Linked DNA regions of Homo sapiens: region 1 is linked to region 2. The links are contacts of gene promoters, found by promoter capture Hi-C in human tissues and cell types (Jung and others, 2019). All regions are on one chromosome and are shown on one strand. Each heading gives the region's core, a stretch centred on a gene start or on the middle of the fragment in contact. The rest is flanking DNA. Distances are from core to core; before and after follow the strand shown.

Region 1 (5,615 bases), core at 3,059-5,558, 200 kb before region 2:
GCTCTTGAACTTGATGCATATGGAATCATAAAACAAACTCTTGTGTCTGTCTCCTTTTGTGTATCAGTACTTCATTCCTTTGTTACTGCTGAGCGGTGTTCCCTTGTATGAATATATGCGGTCTATCCATTGTCTTATTGATGTACATTTGGGTTGCTTTCAGTTTTTAGCTTTTATAAAGCTGCAGAAATATTCATCTGCAAATCTTTTTGTAGACACACATACTAATTTGCCTTAGATATATACTTAGGAGTAGAATGTCTGGGTCATAGGGAAAGCCTGAGTAACTTTGTAAGAAACTGCTCAATTTTGCCAGTGTCTACATACCATTTTACATTCCATTAGCAATGTATGAATTCTAATTGCACTACATCTTCTCCAACAATTGGTGTTGTCATTTCTAATTTTAGCCATTTTAATGGGTGTGAAGTGGTATTTCATTGTGGTTTTAATTTGCATTTCCCTGATACTGAATGCTTTTTTCATGGGCTTATAGGCCATTCCTGTATCTGCTTTTGTGAAATGTATTCAAAACTTTTGCCCTGGTTCCCATTTTTAAAACTTCAATATGTACCTTACAATGAGAACACAGGGACACAGGGAGGGAAACATCACCCACTGGGGCCTGTCTGGGGGTTGGGGGCAAGGGGAGGGAAAGCATTAGGACAAATACCTAATGCATGTGGGGCTTAAAACCTAGATGACGGGTTGATGGGTGCAGCAAACCACCATGCCACATGTATACACGTTCTGCACATATATCCCAGAACTTAAAGTTAAAAAAAAAAAAAGTGCCTTAATCCCTTCCACACCATTTTCTTTAAATAAACAACAACAGTGCAATTGGCATGACAATGCATTTTAAATCTCTCTGAGAAGTTGTTTTCTAAAGAAAGAATTACTTATTAATATGTTGAGTGGCCTAGAATTGTGAATGTCCTAAATAATGTTAGGAAGGATTTGAAATATCATTGGAGATAAAATATTATGAATAATTTTGCTTCCGATAAGGCAATTATGTATTCAAAATACTCATTGAAGTAAGTCTTGGCCAGGCGTGGTGGCTTATGCTTGTAATCCCAGCACTTTGGGAGGCCGAGGCAGGTGGATCACCTGAGGTCAGGAGTTCGAGACCAGCCTGACCAACACGGTGAAACCCTGCCTCTACTAAAAAGACAAAAAAATTGGCCAGGCATTGTGGAACGCACCTGTAATCCCAGCTACTTGGGAGGCTGAGGCAGGAGAATTGCTTGAACCTGGGAGGCAGAGGTTGCAGTGAGCCAAGATTGTGCCACTGCACTACAGCCTGGGCGACAAAGCGGGACTCCGTCACAAAAAATAAATAAATAAAATAAAGTCTGTTTTATTAATTGCCAAGAAATTTGAAATGATATAGACACTTACTTATCTTTTTTCCCCTTTGAAATGCTTATTTAGATGGAAAAATTAGAATGTAACCTATCAGAGTTCTTGGCTTATCCTAGAAGAATATCTTATCTGCTGAAAGTGAATGCTTTCTTCCTCTGTGCCTTCTCTTCTCTGGGTCAGGAGTCTGACTTTCTTGACTATGATCCAAATGTTTTAGGGCATATTAGTGATACCATATGTAATCTAATTCTTTGTACCATACTGCTGGAAACGGACCTGAGCCAATCTGGTCATCCACACCCCTTAGGACTTTTTGATAGGTTACAGTCACAACCAAAAAGACTTGAGGTAGATGGAGTTTAGCTGCTTCCCCACAACACTGCTACCAAGTTATAATAAAAGCTAGCCTCAGATGAAAAAGTCTGCCACTCAACAGTCGTTCATTCAATGCATATTTATTAGCAAGCAGGCACAAAACAGATGATTCGTCCTGTCCTGAAAGCTTAGCTCTTGCATTTTGTGGGTACTCTGACCCCTTTTATGAAAAGCTTACTTGAAGCACAGGTATAGGGTTTGTCATGCTTATAGTTGGTTCCAGTCAATCAGAAATCCTCACAACCGCCAGGCGCGGTGGCTCATGCCTGTAATCCCAACACTTTGGGAGGCCGAGGCAGGCGGATCACGAGGTCAGGAGATCGAGACCATCCTGGCTAACATGCTGAAACCCCGTCTCTACTAAAAATACAAAAAATTAGCTGGGCATGGTGGTAGACGCCTGTAGTCCCAGCTACTTGGAAGGCTGAGGCAGGAGAATGGTGTGAACCCGGGAGGCGGAGCTTGCAGGGAGCCTAGATCGCGCCACTGCACTCCAGCCTGGGCGACAGAGCGAGACTCCGTCTCAAAAAAAAATAAAAATAAAAAATAAGAAATCCTCACAACCAGGCCAGGGCCCTTGGCTCACGCTTGTAGTCCCAGCACTTTGGGAGGCTGAGGCGGGCAGATCACTTGAGGTCGGGATTTCCAGACCAGCCTGACCAATATGTGAAACCCGGTTTCTACTAAAAATGCAAAAACTAGCCAGGCGTGGTGGTGCGCACCTGTAGTCCCAGCTACTCTTGAGACTGAGGCAGGAGAATCGCTTGAACCCGGAAGGTGGAGGTTGCAGTAAGCCGAGATCACACCATTGCACTCCAGCCTGGGCTACAGAGTGAGACTTAGTCTCAATAATAATAATAATAATAATAATAATAATAATAATAATAATAAATAAATACAACCAGTAGCCGGAGGGTGGCGCCGGTTTACGCATCCAGACTGACATTTCAAACACTATCCCTGAAGACAGTCTCGTTAGATTCCTCTTATCTGTTCATGCAAATGTGGGGTGTATCCATAAAATATTTTAGACAAATCTGCATATGTGGATAGTCACTAATTTCACCAATGAGAGCCCATTTCTTACAGGGATTATTCTGATGAACATGCCACTAATTTTACCAATAAAAATATTTTTGATGCCCAGTATTTGAATTATAAATTTTCCAGAGGTATGCGTAACAGAAGAGCTACTGTATTATTTCTGGAATGTGACTCCCTGCTTTAATAATGGCCATCCGTCTCTGGAGTGTAAGTTTCTGATTAGAGCAACTGCCACCAGATCTGCCCGATCGGCTCCCTGTTGTAGCTTAAACCAATCATATATGTTTTATCCTTGTCCCTGCAGTTAAAGTAAATAAACAACCCAGGCCCATTATATAAAATTAGTAAGAGGAATTCATCTGGATAGTCCATTCTCTATCCTGATCAATTTAATTAGTAAATCTGGTAAAAGTCTCAGATGAGAGTTTAATTATACAGCATCCAGTGACACAGGAAACTAAGGTCTTGAACTCTGATTTTGCTTTTGTGTTGTTTGAAATGTTTGTTCCTCAGTGCCATAAAGAAATAGCACTTGAACATACATTTAATTTTTTTAGTAAGGCCTTTTTTACTTCCTGCAGAAAGGGTACACTCGCCAGCAGTTTTGTCACGAAAGTACACCAAACAAAGGAGACAGGGTCATTTATAACTTGACGCATCCACCCTACTGCTGTGTCCAGTTTCCATTGACTGGAACCGTACCTTACATTCTGTATTTGTCCCAGTTGACTAGCAACTTAGAACTTTTTAAAAGAGGCAGAGGTAGAGTGGAACAAAGGAAGGAGGAAGTAACTTGTGAAATGCTGAGAAAGGTAAAAACACTTTAAAGAGGAACAGGCTATGACCTAATGCTTGCTTGGACCAGTATAAGCATGCCAGGGCAAATATTTAGGCTAAATTGTGGGAGCTAAGAACATAAAGTATATTGATTTTTTTATTATGGTTAGCAGATATTTAAGAATGTTAGCATAGGTCTTTGGATAAATTTTGCTTCTAAGAAAAGTTACTATTTATTCCTAATTGGACGGGGAGGAAAGTCTTTGAAGAGGAACCTCTACTTTACTTTTTACAGTGTCACATTGACAGCATGTGGGACGGGGGCTGGAGAGGTTTTTTCCAGTGACTTAAGTTTCAGGGCCCTTTGTCGTAAAACAGGAGGAGAAGCAGAGAGCTAGCTGATGGAGCCGTCCCTTGGTTCTCACCATGAAGCGCACTGGGAGTCAGCTTTGTGTCTCCAGCCCAGGGCTGCAGGGGATAAACTAGGATAAGGAAGGATGATGATGAAAGGCAACTAGCTGGAGTTGTTATCGCATCTTTCCATTTCAGAGCACTAGCTACCAATGCTGTATTTAACCTTATATCTGTGCTGGGACGGTGGATCTTGTCCTGGCAGGAAATAGCTGTTGTTTGACCACACTGAACAGGGATGCAGAGGACACCAAGGTTAAGGGGGACATAACTGTGAAAGATGAAAGGCTTCCTCCTCATCCTTCCCTCACTCCCCAGAGGAATATATTTTCACTTATGGACTAACACCAACACGTTCAAACCCACCTAATACTCAAAAAGTAAATACTTCCTTCCCTGCCCCCAAATCCTTGATAACCACTGTAACTCTTTACAGTGGCCATCTCCTTGGTAACCACTGTAACTCTTTGGGAGGGGCATTTTTCTGTTGTCTTTTTTTAATTTTTTAATTTTTAAATTAATTTTTTAAATTTAATTAATTTAATTAATTAATTTAATTTTTTTAGAGACGAGGTCTCTATCGCCCAGGCTGGAGTGCAGTACTGCAATCATAACACACTGTGGCCTCAACCTCCTGGGCTCAAGTGATCCTCCTGCCTCAGCCTCCCAAGTAGCTGGGACTATAGGCATGAGCCGCTGTGTCTGGCCCTCTGTTTATCTTTATTTTAGAAGATTATTTATTTATTTTCTTCTTTGTGCTTCATTGGATACAAATCTGTTAATTTTGTTTTTCTTTTTTGAGACAGAGTCTCCCTCTTATTGCCCAGGCTGGAGTGCAGTGGTGCAATCGCAGCTCACCTCAACCTCCACCTCCTGGGTTCAAGCGATTCTCCTGCCTCAGCCTCCTGAGTAGCTGGGATTACAGGCGCGCGCCACCATGCCTGGCTAATTTTTGTATTTTTAGTAGAGACAGGGTTTCACTATGTTGGTCAGGCTGGTCTTGAACTCCAGACCTTGTGATCCACCCGCCTCTGCCTCCCGAAGTGCTGGGATGACAGGCATGAGCCACCGCACCGAGCTTAAATCTGTTTATTTTTATACATATAAATTTACCTTAGAAATAAGGCTTAGTTTTGATTTATTCTGTTTACATATATCATGCAATTAGGTTTTTTAAATACTTAGTTGATCTTTGTATGACTGTGGAAAGATTACATATTGATCTACTTTATTAACTTTAAGTGATAGTATGATTGCCATGGTTTAATTATTCCCATATTAATGACAATTATTTCCATTTAGTCTTACTGCAGACACTGCTATAGTGAACACCTGTCCATTGCTTCTTAGTACTCCTATGCCAGTATTTCTCTCGGGTCGATTTCAATAGAGGGATTGGCTGGGTTACCGGTTACATGCATAACAGATACTGCCAGATTGCCCTCCAGAACGCCCCCATCAATTTACAGTCCACCTTCTTTGTATAAAAGTAGCAATCTAGCCGGGCGCAGTGGCTCGCGCCTGTAATCCCAGCACTTTCAGAGGCCGAGGTGGGCAGATCACCTGAGGTGGGGAATTCAAGACAAGCCTGATTAACATGGAGAAACCCCATCTCTACTAAAAACACAAAATTAGCCGGG
Region 2 (6,277 bases), core at 3,582-6,081:
GGTATGGAACTTTTTAAAAGAAAAGTAAACATTTGGAAATTTCATGTCTGCCATGTAACTAATGTTGCTGCATTTCACATAGGTATTGGGAAATGAGAGAGCAGCGCACCCCCACTTTGAAAGGCAAGCTGGTTCAGAAGGCTGATCAGGAGCAGCAGGACCCTCTGGAATACCTTCAGTCTGATGAAGAGGACGACGAGAAGAGAGGGGCCCAGCGCCGGCTGCAGGAGCAGCGGGAGCGCCTGCATGGAGCCCTCGCGCTCATAGAGCTTGCCAACCTGACTGGGGCGCCACTCCGACAGTAGCTTGGACACTGACTCTTCCACTGTACAAAAGTACTGCCCAGCATACTTAAAAAGTAGATCCTTGGGCATAAGCTAAGCACCTTATTTGCTTATCATAGGCTGCTATTCTGTAGAAATTTATGAAGAATGTTATTGCCCCAGAATATGGGGTGAGAGAGAACTGCACTTTTTTAATATGGAAATGAATTCATCGTAAAGTTTAAAATATTTTGTAAATATGGACTGCACAGTACAGGGTAGAAAACTACATATTGTGGGAAGCTAGATTTTGCAAGTTTAATGCATTCATTGGAAGCAGTTCTCACAGGAAGCACTTTCTGAATAAGACACTTGTTTGAAAAACAGAATGGTACAAATAGCCAAAGAAGATTAAAACAGATTATTTATAAGATCATTTTTAACAATATATATTAGTATGTTTAACAATACTGTAAACACTGAAGCAAGCAAGAAAGTATAAAATATGTAAGATAGATAATTTTAATTGCAAAATACTGTGCCCACTAAGGCTAGAGAAATGGGAGGCTATTTTGGAAGATGTTCTAAGTAATGGACTTAGAAGAAAATAGATATTTGAGGCTCTTGGTAAGATGCACAATAGTTCAGAATTTTTGAAATTGGAGCAAAATCAGTCTTATTCTATCTGGGGCTTTACAACTCAGTATAATGTTTAAGTTTGAAAAGCACTTGTCATCCCTAGCATGTTAACTTGGGAACTTTTGCACATTTCATATTTCTCATTTGCTGAAATTGAGTGATTAATCTTGCAAAGTCTAGGTAACATAGTAATTGGTAATTTTAAAAATACATATTAAGGGCCCTGTAATGAGATTTGGCACTTGGATTTTTACTAAAGGGACACCTGCAGGGTTGTTTTGTAGTGAAATGTTTTAGATCTTTTGTTAGCAAACACTACATTTTAATTGTACTGCTTGTTTAGAATTATTAGCAAATGGAAGCCTCCATATTTATATTTTCAGTGCATAAAGCCACCTTCTTGCTTTACTTCAGAGTAACATGCCAAGCTATTTTGTGTTCACTAAATTTAGCTATCAGTTAAACACTGCAGAAAATATTAGCTACTCAAATAAGTAGGCTTCTGAAATAGTTTTAACTGCAAGTGTGTTAACTTGTGTGGTGGTTTGAAGCCATTTTTCCAAATAAAGTTATTAAACACCACTTTATGTACTGAAGCATGAACAGAAAAATCAAGAGCTGAGCAGACCACCTCCTTTATGTAGGCAAAACTTCCATCATTTTGGCTTTTGTTCTAAACAGAACTAAATGACATGCATAGCATGGTAACTTACAGATCGCTTAATTGGAGTAAAACTCAGAGTAATAGAGGGAAATATGGGCTCTTCAGTGCCTTTTTAGCTTTTTTGAGTTGAAGACGTTCCTACAGATGTAGTTTAAACATTACAAAGTAGGCTTCTTTATCCAAAAATCCCAATGTGTCATAGTACACAGATAGTTTAAAATATGTAGCCACGGGGAAGGGGAGGCATGTAAATGTCTTGAAGAGGAGAAAAAGTATGAAAGAAGATACGATAGTTACGAATAATGTGTATGATGAGGACATACTTTAAAAATGTAATTCCTCTGTACAGTAAATTACAAATCTTTAGGGATTTTTTTGTAATAAGAGAATTTATATTTGTAATGGTCTAAGAATTTTTTTGTAATGTGGTATATAGAATTTTAATTTGGAGCACTTATAAGCTGGTAAGAGAGACTATAGCATCTGAATTATCTTGGTTTATGTTTCAGCATTTCCTCTAGAATTTTTGCTCTCAAATATGTGATTTAATGAACTAAAAACAACACTCATCAGTCTTGGGAAATTTGAACTTTGATCAACTTAACTAAAGAAGGAAGGGTAGTAAGAATTTTTCAAATACAAATATTTGCCAATTCACAGATGATAACATTTAAGGCCTTCAAAAGTAAGGGTTTTTCCTTGTTTCTCCAGTCAGCTTTTGTCAACTCTAATAGTTTTTTCATAAACATTTTTTATTTGTATAATTGCAACAGTTTAAGAAATTATCACAACTATTTAGAAACATTTAAAATGTTCTTTTTGATATAAGCTATATACTTGGAAAAATACATTGGTATCTAAAATTTGAGGTGTGTTAAGACTGCTTTTTGTTTTAAAAAATGGTTTACATTCAAATTTTTGAAGTGTTTTATGCTTCATATGGCTAAGTTGTAGTTTGGCAGAGTTAACAGCATAAGAATAAACATGCTGTAATTTTAAAAGATGCTTTGAATAAAAATTTATTTTAATTTAAAATTTAAAGTACACGGTCATTCTTAAAGCCTTTATCATTTGTTTTCCTATCGAAAATATAATAACCATGATATAAAAAAATTTAAAAGATAGAAACATCACCTACAGCCTTATGTTCAGCCATCAGTATTATTTCAGTACATGTTTGCGTAGTTGTAAGTACAGTGTGGATTGCTTTTTCTTACTTTAATTATGGCTTTTAAGGTTATAGATATTTAACTTCCTCATCGGGTTCATTACTACAGTGTTAAAAATATACTGCTGTGGATAAGTATTGAACTATTGCCACCCCATTTCCAGGCCTTAAATTAGGGTAATAAGGAAAAGGGATTTCATTTCACTTACATTTAGGATGGGTTGTCTCTGGGGTCAGCTCCTCAAGAATCCATTTAAAGCCTGTGTACTTTTCTAAGAGTCTAGCAAATTGGTTTTCTTTTTTCATCAGTTATTTTTGGTAGATCTTTAGTTGTGTATTTGCAGTGGCAAGGGTCAGCCTGTCCTACCCTTGTGCAGAAGAATATCACAAGCAACTCCTTAGTGTGAGTTGCTGTTTAAACAGGGTAAGGATGGGATTTTGACAGCGAGGTAAGGTCCTGGAAGTATGTGTATACAATCAAACTAAATGCAATTATGATGAAGGTCATCATTAAAAATAACTTTAAAATATTCTTTTTGCAGTCAAAACATTTGGAGACTCACAAGAAAATTGAATGTTCTGAGGAAATTAACCAAAATGACCGATTTCCTGTTTAACTTGAATATGGATTCATTTTCTCTTTTAAAACGGACTTAACATGTCTTTTCTTTCTTGTTTTGGGTAACTTGGGCACTTCTGGTCTTTTTAATGCTAGCTAATTTTCACGAGTTCTGCTTTAGTTCTTATCAGGGCTGAAAATGTTTCCCAGTTTTCATTCTCCTGGTTGTTTAGTGCCTAAGGGTAGAAAAACAATTCTCTGGGCATCTATATAGTTAGGCCCCAACTTTTATTTAACTTGAAATCTTAAGCTTTTCTAAGAAGCTAAAAGTTCATATATATATATATATATAATATACATTATATATTAAATATATAATATATATATTTTTGAGACGGAGGCTTGCTCTGTCGCCCAGGCTGGAGTGCAGTGGCGCGATCTCGCCTCACTGCAAGCTCTGCCTCCCGGGTTCACGCCATTCTCCTGCCTCAGCCTCCTGAGTAGCTGGGACTACAGGCGCCCGCCACCACGCCCGGCTAATTTTTTTTGTATCTTTAGTAGAGACGGGGTTTCACCGTGTTAGCCAGGATGGTCTCGATCTCCTGACCTCGTGATCTGCCCGCCTCGGTCTCCCAAAGTGCTGGGATTACATGTGTGAGCCACCGCGCCTGGCCAAAAGTTCATATTTTTTAAAGACTGACAAGGGTAGGCGGTTCTGGGAAGCTGTCCTTCAACTGACCTGACCCGAAGGCAAACGGCCCTCCGCGAGGAATGCACCTACCACAAAGCACCCAGAGGACACCCAAGTCCCAAGGCTTCACCCACCTTACTCCTAGCCACTCCACTCCTAGATATTTATTTAAGAGAAATGAAGACACAGGTCCCACAAACGCCCACGAATTTTCATGGAAGCATTTTTCCTAATGGTCCTAAACTGGAAACAACCAATGGATACACAATTTGTGATACTATTCAACGATTAAACAAACCACATGGTCGAGTCCAAAGCATAGAGTGAAAACCCCTGAGACCACATGCTCATTCATAAATTCTAGAAAGCACCCTGTTTATTTGAAATTCCGGAAAAGGCAAACCTAACCTACAGCAATAGTCATCGATGAGATGCGGGCGTTAACTTCAAAGGGGCAGCAAGGGGAATTTTTGGGGCGATGGAAATGTTGTTTTGAGTAGTTACTCCTGTGGATGCCTTTGTCGAAGCTCATCTCAAACTATGGACTGGCAAGATGTGTACACTTCATTGTATGTAAATTATACACTAAACAAAAAAGTTGTAGGGAAAAAAAAAAAAAAGCAAAACAAGCCCTGAGACTTACTGAAGCGTTTCTTTCCAGGAAAGCCTGGAGGAAGGCAGCGCTTTTCAACTCCCCAGCGCATTGCCGGCCCTGGAGACCGAAGGAGGTGCCTGGAACCAGGGTGAAGTCCAGCGCGCAGGGTCCTCCCGCGCCGGCCTCGGGCGCTCGCAGGGGGCGGGTCGGGACCTGGGATTGCGCCGGGCTCTTCCTGTTCCTGCCGCGCCCTCTTCCCCGGCCCGGCCGGGCGGGACCAGTGCGCAGCCGGGGCTGGCGGGCGGCGGGGTCCGCGGGGCCGCAGGAGATGACGGCCGGCGGCCAGGCCGAGGCCGAGGGCGCTGGCGGGGAGCCCGGCGCGGCGCGGCTGCCCTCGCGGGTGGCCCGGCTGCTGTCGGCGCTCTTCTACGGGACCTGCTCCTTCCTCATCGTGCTTGTCAACAAGGCGCTGCTGACCACCTACGGGTGAGGCGGGGCCCGGGGCCGGGGGGTCTGCGGGAGTGCGGGGCTGCCCCTGTCCTCCGTGCGCTTCAGCGGCGCCCGGGACAGGGCGGGTGGGGACAGGGACCCTCGAGTCTCAGCTGGGCACATTGGTCGAGTTTCCCAGGCGCCCTCCAGAACTCGCTCAGCTTTCTACACTCAGGCCACAACCTGAGAAAGTCGTTCTCTTCCTGAGCGCGCCTGCCCTGCTGCGAGGCGCCCTGTCCTAGGTGGGCTGGTAGAGCTCAGACAGATTCTTTCATACACCCAGCGAGCTGAAAACAGGGATTCAAATGCCTGCTTCAAAGGACGCAATTCCTTACACAGATCTCCATGTTCAACGGTCAGGTACTCCTGAGCCAGTAAGTCTGTATTGATTGACTGTTCATTCTCAGATGACCAGCGTGTTCATGGAAAACTCGGGAAAACAATTGGAAGTTCATATGGAGTACTTTTTTGGATTAGTGTGAAGTAAACGCAAATTTGTGCTGCCTTGAACCTATTTGTAAGGACTAGAAAATCCTGCTTAATTCTGCTACCATTGTAGCGGCACTGAGAAAATTGTGGATTTAGACCCAGCTCCACCGGTTAACACCTGTCTTTTTGGACCAGTCTCACAGTCAGCAATTTTTTTCAGATGCAAAAAACCTGAATGATTACAATCGTGTTAATTACCCTCCAGGGCTCTGCACGAGCTGTTATATGTGAAGGCTCTTTGTAAACTCTACTATGTTACAAGAATATGCCATCAACATTTTAGAGCCCAAAGAGACCTAGAGTGTCTTAGTTAGAGAGTATCTTAGAGTATCAGCTTTCTTTTTTTATATATACATACAGATTCAGCTTATGTGGGTCTCACTTTTCTCGAATATAAAATACGAAAGCTGAGGCTGGCTGAGGTGGTTTGCACCTGTAATCACAGCATTTGGGAGGCCAAGGCAGGCATATATATATATATATATATAGTGTGTGTGTGTGTGTGTGTGTGTGTGTGTATAATATTTTTTTGAGACAAGGTTTCACTCTGTTGCCTAGGCTGGAGTGTAGTGACACAATCATGACTCACTGCAGCCTCGACCATCTGGGTTCAAGCAATCCTTCTGCTGCAGCCTCCAGAGAAGCTGGGACCATAGGTGTGCACCACTGCACCGGCAATTTTTTTGATTTTTTGTAGAGGTGGGGTCTCAGTGTGTTTCC

Evidence for each region. The method cuts DNA at HindIII sites, captures the fragments that hold promoters and counts their contacts. A contact is called where the count stands out against the background at its distance.
Region 1: a fragment that was not itself captured here is called in contact with the fragment with the promoter of SLC35D2 in region 2 in 1 of the 25 tissues and cell types used here (spleen).

The regions. Positions count from the first base shown.
Region 1 is chr9:96,580,390-96,586,004 of GRCh38, reverse strand. The region is part of intron 1 of CDC14B (cell division cycle 14B); the gene reads left to right. Among named protein-coding and RNA genes, the nearest start is that of CDC14B, 37 kb to the left of the region's middle. The HindIII fragment of the contact is 4,829 bases long and covers 1,894-5,615 here.
Region 2 is chr9:96,382,265-96,388,541 of GRCh38, reverse strand. It overlaps SLC35D2 (solute carrier family 35 member D2), which reads left to right and starts at 4,831. Exons shown (of 12, transcript NM_007001.3): 1 at 4,831-5,065. The coding sequence starts at 4,908. SLC35D2-HSD17B3 (SLC35D2-HSD17B3 readthrough) reads left to right here and starts at 4,831. Exons shown (of 26, transcript NR_182427.1): 1 at 4,831-5,065. It overlaps ZNF367 (zinc finger protein 367), which reads left to right. Exons shown (of 5, transcript NM_153695.4): 5 at 83-2,601. The coding sequence ends at 305. RefSeq lists silencers at 4,843-5,172, 5,183-5,232. The HindIII fragment of the contact is 24,287 bases long and covers 610-6,277 here.